Linked DNA regions of Homo sapiens: all the other regions are linked to region 4. The links are contacts of gene promoters, found by promoter capture Hi-C in human tissues and cell types (Jung and others, 2019). All regions are on one chromosome and are shown on one strand. Each heading gives the region's core, a stretch centred on a gene start or on the middle of the fragment in contact. The rest is flanking DNA. Distances are from core to core; before and after follow the strand shown.

Evidence for each region. The method cuts DNA at HindIII sites, captures the fragments that hold promoters and counts their contacts. A contact is called where the count stands out against the background at its distance.
Region 1: a contact is called between a fragment that was not itself captured here and the fragment with the promoter of KCTD12 in region 4, in 3 of the 25 tissues and cell types used here (dorsolateral prefrontal cortex, heart left ventricle and mesenchymal stem cells).
Region 2: a contact is called between a fragment that was not itself captured here and the fragment with the promoter of KCTD12 in region 4, in 2 of the 25 tissues and cell types used here (bladder and stomach).
Region 3: a fragment that was not itself captured here is called in contact with the fragment with the promoter of KCTD12 in region 4 in 2 of the 25 tissues and cell types used here (H1 embryonic stem cells and dorsolateral prefrontal cortex).
Region 5: a contact is called between a fragment that was not itself captured here and the fragment with the promoter of KCTD12 in region 4, in 4 of the 25 tissues and cell types used here (H1 embryonic stem cells, dorsolateral prefrontal cortex, heart right ventricle and 1 more).

What each region holds. Positions count from the first base shown.
Region 1 is chr13:76,216,642-76,219,341 of GRCh38, reverse strand. No RefSeq gene overlaps it. Among named protein-coding and RNA genes, the nearest start is that of LINC00561, 280 kb to the right of the region's middle. The HindIII fragment of the contact is 6,147 bases long and covers 1-2,700 here.
Region 2 is chr13:76,023,464-76,026,163 of GRCh38, reverse strand. No RefSeq gene overlaps it. Among named protein-coding and RNA genes, the nearest start is that of LINC00561, 90 kb to the right of the region's middle. The HindIII fragment of the contact is 3,338 bases long and covers 1-2,700 here.
Region 3 is chr13:76,006,030-76,008,729 of GRCh38, reverse strand. No RefSeq gene overlaps it. Among named protein-coding and RNA genes, the nearest start is that of LINC00561, 72 kb to the right of the region's middle. The HindIII fragment of the contact is 3,533 bases long and covers 1-2,700 here.
Region 4 is chr13:76,885,155-76,887,854 of GRCh38, reverse strand. KCTD12 (potassium channel tetramerization domain containing 12) reads left to right here and starts at 1,450. Exons shown (of 1, transcript NM_138444.4): 1 at 1,450-2,700. The coding sequence starts at 1,707. The coding sequence ends at 2,684. RefSeq lists silencers at 1,223-1,652, 2,053-2,322 and an enhancer at 1,936-2,435. The HindIII fragment of the contact is 7,826 bases long and covers 548-2,700 here.
Region 5 is chr13:76,055,533-76,058,232 of GRCh38, reverse strand. No RefSeq gene overlaps it. Among named protein-coding and RNA genes, the nearest start is that of LINC00561, 120 kb to the right of the region's middle. The HindIII fragment of the contact is 9,741 bases long and covers 1-2,700 here.

The DNA.
Region 1 (2,700 bases), core at 114-2,613, 670 kb after region 4:
TACTAGCATGAGAAGTTACCAGTTCCACAGTGTGGTAGATGGAAGGAGAGCTTTGGGGGAAGGATTCAGGAATGTGGCCCACTTCTAAGGCATACCATTATAAAGACTTGAGGTCAAGGTGGAGATAAACCTTGCATGTAGGGGCAGAGTTGGGGGGAAGGATAAGTGGGGGAACATTAGTTCTAAAATCAGAGATGAGACCAAAATAAAATCTATTTCAAATCACCCTAGGAAATCCCTTAAATCACCCATAATATACAGTGATTCTCATACTCTATAAATCTGAGACTCACTAAGCTAGATTAAAAGATGTGAACAAAACATTCATCAATTTGGCCCAGACAAAAGTATTCTTGCTTGCTTTAGGATTTACTCAACTTGTTCTAATTTTAACCTTCTGTTGCTTTAAAATATGGTAATGGATTTGTTGGTTGTTGAAGGAATTGAATGTGATTGTGGTGTTACATCTTTTCTTATATTAAAATCTTTAATTCTAAAATCAGTATGTCACATACATTACCACATTAACACATCAAGACTGGAAACTGATGATTGGAACAGAGACAAATGTGTTGGTGAGTTGTGGGGAGCTGTCAGGGGACTTATGGACTATAGCTGTCCTATAGTCTATAACGAGCCAGCTGAAGATGGACAGAACAGGAACAATGAGAAGGTACATAGAAGATGCAGATGCTGGGTCAAATTGGTGGTGATAAAATCTGGTCATTATCTCTTTGTAGCAAGTAGGGGATCTTTCATGGTTTGGGCAAAAATTTTCTGAATCACAAAGAAGTCCCATGTAACAATCGTGAGATGTATCATTCTACATATATTCATTCTCTGATAATTATGTCATGTCTATCAATTTCTCACCATAGGCATATATAAAAAATAAGATGATAAAGTAATGGCATTAGGTGAGTTAATTAGCATACTAAAATATGCACGGTCCAAACGAACATAATGACTTGAGAGATAATGTACAAGTTGTAAAAAAAAAAAAATGAATAAGAAGATTATATTTTATTAGAGAAACACTTAGTTATTAACCAAAAATATCATAGTGGTTGATATGATCAATATTTGGTTCAGAAGGATTTCAGTTAAGAAAAAAATCAATCTTCTCTCAAAGATTAAAGATATAGCATTAACTAGGATAGTTCATAAATACCTGAAGTCATTTTCAAAAGTGATCATTGGAAACAGTGCTCCAAAAGGGAATAATTTTACAGAACCGGGAAGGAAATCCTACTCCCTTTCTTGAGAAACAAATACTATGATTTTATTGAATACTAGTATAATACCAACTAGCAAACTTTCCAAAAGCTTTCTCAGATTAAACCGTAAGTGAATTACTTTCTCTCCTCCATTCTAGTCCTGCTGCAGGATTTTGAATGCTGAGAACACTAGAGTTCCAACTTCTAGGAGTGGTTTGGTCTCAATGGCTGAGTCAAATCACCACCCCTGTCCAACTACAATGGGCAGACAAGGATGAACATGTTCTTTCCACTCTGTTTTTTGTGGTCTTCTCCATTCTCTTTGCACCATTCTTCATTACGTCCTCTTCTATCTGCCATTGTAAATGAGATTGCTTCCTTTTCTGAATTTCCTCATTGTTTATGCTTTTACCTTATTTTACTTTGCATTGGATGTGAATTTTACTATCTTTTCCTACTTGATCTTCTATCTTTGAGGGCAGGATCCCTGGCTAATAACAATAGCCATCATGTTTTGAGTGGTCACTATGTGCTAGTCATAGTGCAAAGCAAATCACTGGAATTATTTACCTTCATCCTCATAACAAGCCAATGAGATGGGTGTTACTATTATCCCCTTTCACATGGGGAAACTGATGATTGGTTAATGATCTTATCCAAGTCTACACAGCTGGTCACAAAGAATGGGGACTGGAACTCAGGATGTCTGTTTGGAATAAATGCACAAATGACAGAAAATATTCCTCTCTCCTGACCTCGCCTTAGGGGAATATTCTGAATATATTAAATAATAAAATGTGGTTACTGTAGAAATCTACCTATCCCTGCTTTTATGAACAATTTTGGCCAGAAAAAAAACTATGTGATAATAGAACATGTACAGAATTTGAATTTTGTCTGAGGCAAAGAGACACCTTTCATGGTTAAACTGAGCATTTCATAAAAATATTTTGTTTCTGATTTGTAGGTATTTTAAATAAATCTTTTAAAGAATTCAGTCCTTTGCACACAATGCTGCATTCAAATATTCAAATATTTCATTCTTGGTTCATTTCTTCCTTTCCTCTCTGATGATTCTTTGGGGTTTTGGCAATGTTGAAATTCTGGTTTAGCTTTGCTAATGCTCGCCTGGTAATATTTTTCTTTCCAATTTGCAAGCAGCAGCTGTGTGATGGTGTGTGTGCATGCTGACACCCTCCATTCCTACTTTATAGCTCTTGTTAGCAAGCCAAAAGCTATGCATCATTCATGCAGAGTGATCCCATTTCTGTACCCTGCCCCTCTGCACACACTTAAAACTAATTGAGTAAGTTATTTTAAGATAACGGCAATCATGGATTTGATGTTTATCAAATTCTTAAGATAAATCCTTAGAGATCCAAATGACATAATTCTTATTCCTGCTTAGACTTATCAAGGATCAAGTGAAAATACATTAAAATATGCTTTATACACTGCTTAGACCATTAGTACATTTTTCCAA
Region 2 (2,700 bases), core at 166-2,665, 860 kb after region 4:
CAAGGTGACTATACCTGGCAATAATCTATTGCACACTTGAAATTTACCAAAAGGGATGATTTTACGTGTTCTCGGGAAAGAAAGAAGTAAAGAAAGAGAAAAACAAAGGGAGAGAAAGAACATGGTAATTATGTAAGGTAATGGAAATGTTGTTTGCTTGATTTAGATGTCATTTCACTATGTATATGAATATCAAAACATCAAGTAGTACACTTTAAATATATATAATTTATTTATCAATTAGGTCTCAATACAGCTGGGAAAAAAGAATTTACATACTAATTAGGAGAAAGCAAAAAGTTTCTGAGAAATCAATTAAGAACTTGGAATTAACCATGGATGGCAATAACAAATGTGGTTAGAGTGATGAAGACACAAGTCTAAGTGGAATATGATAAAGAGAGACAAGAAAATAAGGGGGTCAAGGTGATAGGTTTACGTAGCTCCTTCAGGGAACTTTTCCACAAAGAACAGAGAAATTAATCAGTAGCTGAAGAGGAAGAACAGGAAGAACTTTCTTCAAAGATAGGAAATACGCCATTTTTAAGCTAATAGAAATGTTCATTAGAGAGGAAGAAGTTGATGATGCAAGACAGAGAAATTAAAATTATAGGAGTCAAGTCAGCAAACAGGGAATAAAATTCGGAGCACGGGAGGGTCATTTGGCTTTACATAGGAGTGGAATAGTTCTTCTGTTGTGGCGTATATGCTTTCGATTGATATTCCAACTTTGTATAAAGTTATTTTACTTTTGAGTGATTTTTAAGATAAGATGCCTAGTTGAATCTTATGTGTATCTACATAAGGTGCCCACATATTTGGAAATTACACAAACACACACACACACACACACACACACACACCAGAAGTCAGTGTCTGGCTCATATTTCTCAATTAAATCAGGTGATCGATCCTTGGGGAATCACTCAACTTTCAGAAAAAACGTCCTTCAAATTGGTTGTTTCTGTGCCTATAAAAAAAATACTCACGTGGAACTCATAGTTTTCTATGCACTGTTATCTGAGCTGAATTAAAATTCGATGCAGTGTTTGGAAGCTTAAGATTTCCCATTTTAAAAAATGGAGGGAAATGTCTTCGAGCATATGAAACTGAGTTTGGGGATCAATATTGACTTGAGAAATGTTTTAGTTTTTTTCTTGAAAATCTTGAATTTTTCAATTATGAATGCAATGTAAAGCTCCTAAAGAAAGTTGATTTAAAGGATATTTCTCAGTTTCCGATTCCATACATCTTTCCATCCATTCTTTATACATATGTAAAATACATTGCTATCATTTTATGTAAATACAACATTTCTAGAATGGCATTCTCCCCTTTCACTTTCAGTTGAAATAACATAAGAGTTTTTTAACAGTCTTAAGTAATTGGAAGTTATCTAATGCCATAAAAAATCTTATACAAAACTCTGAAGAAAAAAATTAAATTTGAAAATTAATTTATGCTACATTGCTTTGAGGTTTTAGACCCACCTCTGATATAGTATATGAAAGTTAAAAGCTTAACAGTTGTCCCCAATCATGTACAATTCAACATCTATCAATTATTTTTCTCTGAATTTTTAAGATTTCATTCAAGCAGCTTTAAAAGCTTACCATTTTCTTTCTTTATATATAACACTCCAATCAAGCCAGAAACTAACAAAGGTGTGGTGATTTTAAACATTTTTATTATATTTTCACTTTGTACTCACTGCAGTAGTCAGACCAGGTTGCCATAATAAATACCATAGACTGAGTGGCTTCAGCAACAGGAATTTGTATCTCACAGTTCTAGAGGTTAGGAAATTCAAGATCAAGGTGCAAGCAGATTCCATTCCTGGTAAGGGTTCTCTTCGTGGCTTGCAGATGGTCACTTTCTAGCTGCATCCTCACATGGCAGGAAGAGAGAAAGCTCTGATCTCTCAGTGTCTTATAAGGGCACTAATCCTATAATGGGGCCCCCACCCTTATGATCTCATCTGTCCCCAGTTACCTCCCAAAGGCCTCACCTCCAAATACCATCACACTGAGGTGCAGGGCTTCAACATATGAACTTGGGTGAAACAAAACATCCAACACTTGACACTCACTTTCTCATGCAATTAAGCAGAAATGAACATTGTATCATTTCTAAGAGATGTGGACTACTAGATACTACCTTGTCAGGAGCTTTCACATTATGTACATTTCTCCACTCTTCCATGGAAGTGCCAAACCAAGCATCTACACATTCCTAAGGAATCTACACATTCCTAAGGAACTACTCGTTCCTAAGCAAGGTATGAGGCTTGCTCATAAAAACCATAGTAATCACTGTGTCTGTAACTAGATTACTTAACCTGAGGCAACATACTTCAGGACACATTTGAGGAATATTTTTGGCCTGAGTGCTATAATTATACAGTGTTTCAAAAAGTCTGCTACCTAGCAATGAGCTATAATGGTTTTCTCTTCGACCCCCAATTTAGCTTTCAGATTGGTAAATGAACCAAGTGACTAAATATTACTTAGCAGTTCAAGTAGCTTCCCTTCCCCACCACTTTTCTCACTGTGCAGAAAGGAGAAGGCTTTTTCAAATGCAAATATGAAATTTGGCTTAAGATCTTAAGAAATAAATTTTCACCCATCAATGGCTGACTTTTCTGGCCACCCTTTAAAAAAGAAATGCTTCCTTATCCTTAGAGATCTAAAACAAAATTTT
Region 3 (2,700 bases), core at 183-2,682, 880 kb after region 4:
GAGATAACGTAAATTTATGTTAAGAAAGTGTCTCAACATTCTTTTTTTCTGTATTTACTGAATTATTTATTTATACAACCCTGGTTGAATTTTAAAACTTTTTCTACTTCTCCCTAAGAACATTTCTATTCACTCATAGTTCAATTTGAGATTCGTTTTCTATTCATAATCAAAGCTACAGTGACTAAAGATACAAAAGGAGTAAGGTAATGATAGATAATTTTGTTGCTTAAGAAAAATGTCTTAGTGCTAATAAATTCCCTCCTTTTTAATCATAAGCTTTACTTTTGCAGAAAGTTTTTCTAACCAGATATTTCTTTGGCTTTTTATTTTACAAATAGTTATTGCATAACTATTGTATGCCAGGCACTGGATCAAGGAATACAAAGTGTATAAAGATATAAAGATGAATAAAATTTAGTTCATGCCCTCAGAGACTAATTCTTGTACACAATTACTTTAAGAATATACAAGATGTTCAGAAAATCACAATAGAGGAGAAAACAAATTCTGTCCTTTGTTAGATGCCTATCAATACATTATTGAAGCATATTTTTAAATATCAAATCAGAAGTATTATTTTTCATATAGCATTATTACAGAAAATCAGAGTCAAAATAATTATTCCCATTAAAATACTTTTCTAGGAATGTAATTTGCCATGACTAAAAGGTCTTTGTTGTTACCAATGAATAGGAAGTGTTCCTGTTCTGCACTACTAGCCTATGTCTTATAAAAGTAAAATAAAATAAACATTCAGCTTTCTTCTACTTTTAGAAGCTTCACTAACCTCAATGCCTTGATCGACGTTCCTCTGGTAATCACATATTTTCTGCTACCATTACCCAAAAAAATCAATGTGCATGAAGTGGGAAATAAGTAAAATATTTTGAGTTATTGCAGCCAGGAAAAATATCCTTAATAGTATCACAAATGAAATGTAATCATTGCTTTGTGTCTGCATGATCCAAGGCCTGATTGTGATACAGCGTGATGTCCATCGAGATACTAAAGGGCCCCTCCCACTGCACAATAATCATAGCTTTCACTAGGAATAACCCCACCACCACCACCAAAATAAAATAAAATAAAATAAAGTGAGCAAGGGTCTGAACTAAGGCAAAGTGGTGACCCTGTTGGAATTCAGAATCTTGGACAAGCAGAGAGATGAGGAACACAGCCTGGTTCTCACCTACTGAGAAAAAAATCCTCAAAGCAGACAAATGCAGTTACAAGTTGGTAGCCATCTGTAACAGCAGAAGCATATACAATTTAAACCAAAGCTAGCTTGAGTTAGAGCCCCAGAACCAATATGTTCACCAATAAATCTAAGGTCACAGTGCAAGCCACTACAAGTAACAGTTGGTAGGAACAATAGATTTGTAGAAGGGCCGTGTATGAAATATAAATAAATAAAGGTGTTTCCTTTGTTATCACAAAGATGAGCATACAAAAAGAGGCTATGTGAAGTAAGAAGCAGACTGAGAATGAAAAGAAGGACTTCTAGAAATAAGTAAAACAATATATTTTTGTCGAAATCATTTTTCTATTCCTTGTCTCAATTGTCAAGTTCATTTCACTTTACAGAGTGTGTTTGCAGGTATAGCCAATGTTCCTTAGTTTAAAAGCAAAAACCATCACCATTGAGTTATAGAGTGCAACAAAGAAGGAAAATGGTCTTTAGACATAAAGTGGAAGCCATGACTTTGCAAAGCACTCTGGATGTAGCAAAGGAACCCATTAGACTTGATGATTAAAGATGGTGTTTTGAGCAAATGCAGAAGTAAAGGCCATAACTGGGGAATGAAGACCAGGAACCAAGAATCTGACTTTCCAGCACTAACAGCTGAAAGGAAGAGCAGGGCAGGGCGGGGTAGCGGGGGAACTCAATTTAGGAAGTCAAAGACTGCTTCTCAGCTACCAAGATTACAGGTAAACACCAACTACTTAGTGATACAGAATTAGAACTAATACAGATATATACTGCATACCACTTGTAGAAAGTTGTGTGTGATTGCTTATTATGGATCCTGAGCTCAGTCGTATACAACAATGTTTTTATTGTCTTCTTAAAATCCCCTTCAGATATCAGGATATGCTAATACATGAACTTCAAAGGCCATGTAGTAACCAGTCTGTTACTTAAGGCTCCAATGGGTAGAATGAGGACCCTATACAAACTTCTGATCTATAGAACTGTGAGCTATTAAATATGCATTGTTTTACACTGCCAATTACACAGTAACTTACTGCATAGCACTAAAAACCCAATACACTTTCTTTCCAAATATTTCCAAAATTCAGATTTTATTGTTTCCTTGCATTAAGAGTTCACAGGCTCCCCTTACTCCTTACTGCGATACACCAGACACTTTATTAATAATTGGGCTTCTACCTACCTCTCCAGCTTTATCCATAGTGAAACATCCCTAGAGGGCATAGGCTCCAGCCACACTGGATCACTAGCCTGTCCTGAAACATAAGGGTGGAGGCACAACAGATAGGCTCTCTTAACAATTCTTCCAATTTGTGTATCGCAGAGCCTAAGCAACCAAAAACTGCATTTCCCACTGGGGTGAACACACCCCAGTGAGCCATGCCCTTGTATAATCTCCTCTCCTTGTGTTCAGGCAGAGCCTAAGACTTGCATCTAACCAACCCAATCTGTCAAAGGTGACAGGATGTCACTCTCATAATTAT
Region 4 (2,700 bases), core at 201-2,700:
TCTATACTTCAAACTGATGTGATAACTGCGCAGACCCCTGACCCTTTGCTTATTGGGCTACACTGAAAGCGCTTTGGAGATTATTCGCCTTTGCATTCCTCACTCCCTGGTGCCCTGCAAATAATAGCAGGTACACAAGAAACATTCAGTGACCCAATCATTTCTTGACACCCTCCTCTGCACTCTTCTCTTTTTGCAGCATTCAGGAGCTCTTACTTATTTTCATACCCAAATCAGTGATCAGATAATCACTCATAAATATGACATTTCAGAACGTGCTGGGAGCAGCGCAGACAGTGTGTAGGGAGCCATCCAGAGGCCCCACCCACCTGGGAAGCCAGGGAAAGCTTCCAGGGGGAGGGGGCGGTTCTGTGGGCTGCAGTCCGAGGGGGAAAAGCAAACGTGTAGGCAGCAGGAGTTGAGAGATGGGATCCAGACAAGGGCCTTCAGATATATAAATATCCCTTTCTGAGACTGACGGGAACTTGGACAGGGCCGAAGAGTGACCGAGGCATGCGGGAGAGAAGGGGCGCCTGGACTTTTGGAAGGATAAACATGCAGGCGCCAAAGGTGGCTTTAAAAATTACGTTAGATCTGCAACTGTTGTGAGTCTAAGGGCGCGATTCAACGAAGGCTGAATGGGACCCGGAGACCGAACGTTCCGGAGTCTTACCCCTTCACTTCGAAGTGAAGTGCCTCGAAGGCCCTGCGGGAAGAGGGAATTGCAATTAAGAGCAGATTTGAAGCTTCATCTCATTTTGTCTCTGCAGCCAGAAAATAAACTATCGTAAAGCATCCTACTGCGGGACACTGAGGTTTGCTTTTTGTTTCTAGGTTTATTTATTTATTTTCCAGGCTGGCTGCAAGGCAACTTGAACAAAATCTGGCTGCGCTCGGACTGGGGCGGCTCTTTCGTCTCTCCAGGTTTTTCGCGTCTCTCTACTTTCAGTGACACGACAACCAACGATGGCAGGCCGCAGCTGCACTGCTGGAAGCGCCCAGTTCCGCAGGCGGGAGGGCCGGAGGCGGCCACGCATTTCCACTCCCGGGGCGACAGGCTTCCGAAAGTTCACGTCCTCCTTCCAGAGTCCTTGGGTGCGGGCTGGGGCGAGAGGGGAGGGGGCGCGGTGACTGTCCCTCCAAGGAGCTGTCTTCCGAAGCCGCCAAGTCTCGGGCGGGTCCTCTTCGGAAGAGGGAGAAAGTTGGGCGGGACCACGGGGCGGGGCTGGTGGGTGGGGAGCGGGTGGGAGTCCGGGCGCCCCCAGCGCTCGCGAGCCGGGGTGGAGCCAGCAGCCCCGCGTGGCGTCCGCGTTTAAGATGCAAATCGAGTCCCCGCTCCCCACCTCCCCTCGCCCGGTAAGCGAGGCTCCGCCGCCGCCCACGCCTCCTGCGCGCCACGGCACCAGAGCAGGCGGCTCTACTTAAGCAGCGCGCGGGCCGCGACCCGGCACTCGCCTGGAGCGCGCGGGCAAGGCGGGCGGAGCGCACTGGAACTCAAGGGGGCGCACAGCGGCGCGCTCGCACCGCTCGGCTCCGCGCGGCTCTAGGAGGTGGCGGCGGTGGCGGTGGCGGCGGTGGCGGCGGCGGCGGCGGCGGGGCGCAGGGCTGAGCGAGCGTCCGGGTTCCGGGGCTCCGGGGAAGGCGGTTGCAGCTCCTGAGTGCAGCGCGGCTTCCTGCCACTGTCCCGGCCCGGCCACCTCTCTGTCATGGCTCTGGCGGACAGCACACGTGGATTACCCAACGGGGGCGGCGGCGGGGGCGGCAGTGGCTCCTCGTCGTCCTCCGCGGAGCCACCGCTCTTCCCCGACATCGTGGAGCTGAACGTGGGGGGCCAGGTGTACGTGACCCGGCGCTGCACGGTGGTGTCGGTGCCCGACTCGCTGCTCTGGCGCATGTTCACGCAGCAGCAGCCGCAGGAGCTGGCCCGGGACAGCAAAGGCCGCTTCTTTCTGGACCGGGACGGCTTCCTCTTCCGCTACATCCTGGATTACCTGCGGGACTTGCAGCTCGTGCTGCCCGACTACTTCCCCGAGCGCAGCCGGCTGCAGCGCGAGGCCGAGTACTTCGAGCTGCCAGAGCTCGTGCGCCGCCTCGGGGCGCCCCAGCAGCCCGGCCCGGGGCCGCCGCCCTCGCGGCGCGGGGTGCACAAGGAGGGCTCGCTGGGTGACGAGCTGCTGCCGCTTGGCTACTCGGAGCCCGAACAGCAGGAGGGCGCCTCTGCCGGGGCGCCGTCGCCCACGCTGGAGCTGGCTAGCCGCAGTCCGTCCGGGGGCGCGGCGGGCCCGCTGCTCACGCCGTCCCAGTCGCTGGACGGCAGCCGGCGCTCGGGCTACATCACCATCGGCTACCGCGGCTCCTACACCATCGGGCGGGACGCGCAGGCGGACGCCAAGTTCCGGCGAGTGGCGCGCATCACCGTTTGCGGAAAGACGTCGCTGGCCAAGGAGGTGTTTGGGGACACCCTGAACGAAAGCCGGGACCCCGACCGTCCCCCGGAGCGCTACACCTCGCGCTATTACCTCAAGTTCAACTTCCTGGAGCAGGCCTTCGACAAGCTGTCCGAGTCGGGCTTCCACATGGTGGCGTGCAGCTCCACGGGCACCTGCGCCTTTGCCAGCAGCACCGACCAGAGCGAGGACAAGATCTGGACCAGCTACACCGAGTACGTCTTCTGCAGGGAGTGAGCTCCCCAGACCCCCT
Region 5 (2,700 bases), core at 79-2,578, 830 kb after region 4:
TTTTCTTCCATTGTGTGGGTTGTCTCTTCATTTTGTTGTTTCTTTTGCTGTGCAGAGGTTTTTAACTTGATGTGATTCTATTTGTCCATTTTTACTTTGATTGCCTGTGTTTGTGGCTTTTTTTTTTTTGTCAGAGTCTCCCTCTGTCGCCCAGGCTGGAGTGCAGTGGCACGATCTTTGGCTTACTGCAAGCTCCGCCTCCCAGTTCACGCCATTCTCCTGCTTCAGCCAACCAAGTAGCTGGGACTATAGGCACCCACCACCACGCCCGACTAATTCTTTGTGTTTTTTAGTAGAGACGGGGTTTCACCATGTTAGCCAGGATGGTCTCGATCTCCTGACCTCATGATCCACCCGCCTCGGCCTCCCAAAGTGCTGGGATTACAGGCGTAAGCCACTGCCCCCAGCCACTTGTAGCATATTATTAAAGAAATCTTTGCCCAGATCAATGTCCTGGAAAGTTTTCCCAGCCCTTTCTTTTACTAGTTTTATAGTTTGAGGGCTAAGATTTAAGTCTTTAAGTCCATTTTAATTGATTTTTGTATACGCTGCAGATGGGGGTCTAGTGTCATTCTTCTGCACATGGATATCCAGTTTACCCAGTACCATTTATTGAAGAGACTGTCCTTTCCCCAGTGTATGTTCTTGGTACCTTGTCAAACATGAGTTCACTTGCAGATGTATAGATTTACTTCTGGGTTCTCCACTGTGTTGAGAATAGAGAATATTAATCTCTATTGGTCAGTGTGTCTCTTTGTATGCCAGTACCATACTATTTGGGGGACTGTAGCTCTGTAGTATAATCTGAAGTCAGGAAACGTGATTCCTCCAGTTTTTTTCCTTTTGCTTATGATGGCTTTGGCTATTCTGGGTGTTTTGTTGTTCCACACAAATTTTAGAATTGGATTTTCTATTTCTATGAAGAATATCATTGGTATTTTGATAGGGATTGCATTGAAACTGTGGGTAGTATGAACATTTTAACAATATTGATTCTTCTATTCCAGAATCATGGCATATATTTCCATATTTTTGATCCTCTTCAATTTTTTGCATCAGTATTTTATAGTTTTCAATGTAGAGATCTTCTCTCCTTTGGTTAACTCCTAGCTATTGCATTTTATGTGTAGCTATTGACAGTGGGGTTACTTTCTTGATTTCTTTCTCAGATTGTTTCTTGCTGGCATACAGAAATGCTACTGATTTTTTGTATGTTCATTTTGCATCCTGCAACTTTACTGAATTTATCAGTTCTGATAGGTTTTTTGCAGTGTCTTGGGGTTTTTTCAAATATAATATCATGTAATCTGCAAACAAGAATAATTTCACTTCTTCCTTTTCAATTTGAATGCCCTTTATTTCTTTCTCTTGTCTAATTGCTCTAGGTAGGACATCTGGTACTATTTTGAATAACAGTGGTGAATGTGAGCATCTTTGTCTTGTTCCAGATCTTAGAGAAAAGGCTTTCAGGTTTTCACATCCAGTATGATATAGCTGTGGGTCTATTGTTTACAGCTTTTTATTGTGTTGTGGTATGTTCCAGTTTTTGAGGGTTTTTATCATGAAGGGATGTTGAATTTTATCAAATGATTTTCAGCATCAATTGAAATGATTATACAGTTTTTGTTCTTCTTTCTGTTGATATGATGTATAACATTGATTGATTTGCATATGTTGAACCATCCTTGCATCCCTGGGATAAACATAATTTGATCATCATAAATGACCTTTGGAATGTTGTGTTGAAGTTAGTTGGCTAGTATTTTCTTTAGGATTTTTGCATCAGTATTCATCAGAGATATTGGCCTTAGTTTTCTTGTTTTCTGTGTCCTTGTTTGGTTTTGTTATCAGGGTAATACTGGCCTTGTAGAATGTGTTTCAAAGTATCTCCTCCTCCTCTATTTTTTGAAATAGTTTGAGTAGGATTTGCTATTTGTTATTTAAATGTTTGGTAGAATTCATCAGTGAAGCTATTGGGTCCTGGGCTTTTCTTTACTAGGAGAATTTTTGTTATGGTTTTGGTCTCATTACTTGTTATTGATCTGTTCAGGTTTCAGATTTCTTTATGGTTCAATCTTGGTAGGTTGTATGTTCTAGGAATTTATCCATTTCTTCTAGATTTTTCCAATTTATTGGCATATAGCTGCTCATAGTAGCCACTAATGATCCTTTGAATTTCTGCAGTATCAATTGTAATGTCTCCTTTTTCGCCTCTGATTTTATTTATTTGGGTCTTCTCTCTTTTTTTTTTCTTAACCTAACTAAAGGTTAGGCAATGTTTTTAACTTTTTTAAAAAAACCACTTTTTTTCATTCATCTTTTGTATTGTTTTCTTCCTTTCAATTTCACTTATTTCTATTCACTATCATTTCTTTCTTCTGCTAATTTTGGTTTTGGTTTCCTAGTTACTTGAGATGCATTGTTAGGTTGTTTATTTGAAGTTTTTCTTCTTTTTGATGTAGGTGCTTATAGTTATAAAATTCCCTCTTAGTACTGCTTTTGCTGTATCCTATAGGTTTTGGTCTTGTGTTTTCACTACCATTTGTTTCAAGAAAATTGTAAAATTTTTCCTCAGTTTTTTGTTTGGCTCACAGTTCATTCAGAAGCACATTGTTTAATTTGCACATCTGTACAGTTTCAAAAATTGTTATTATTATTGATCTGTAGTTTATTCCATTGTGGTTAACATAGGTGCTTTAT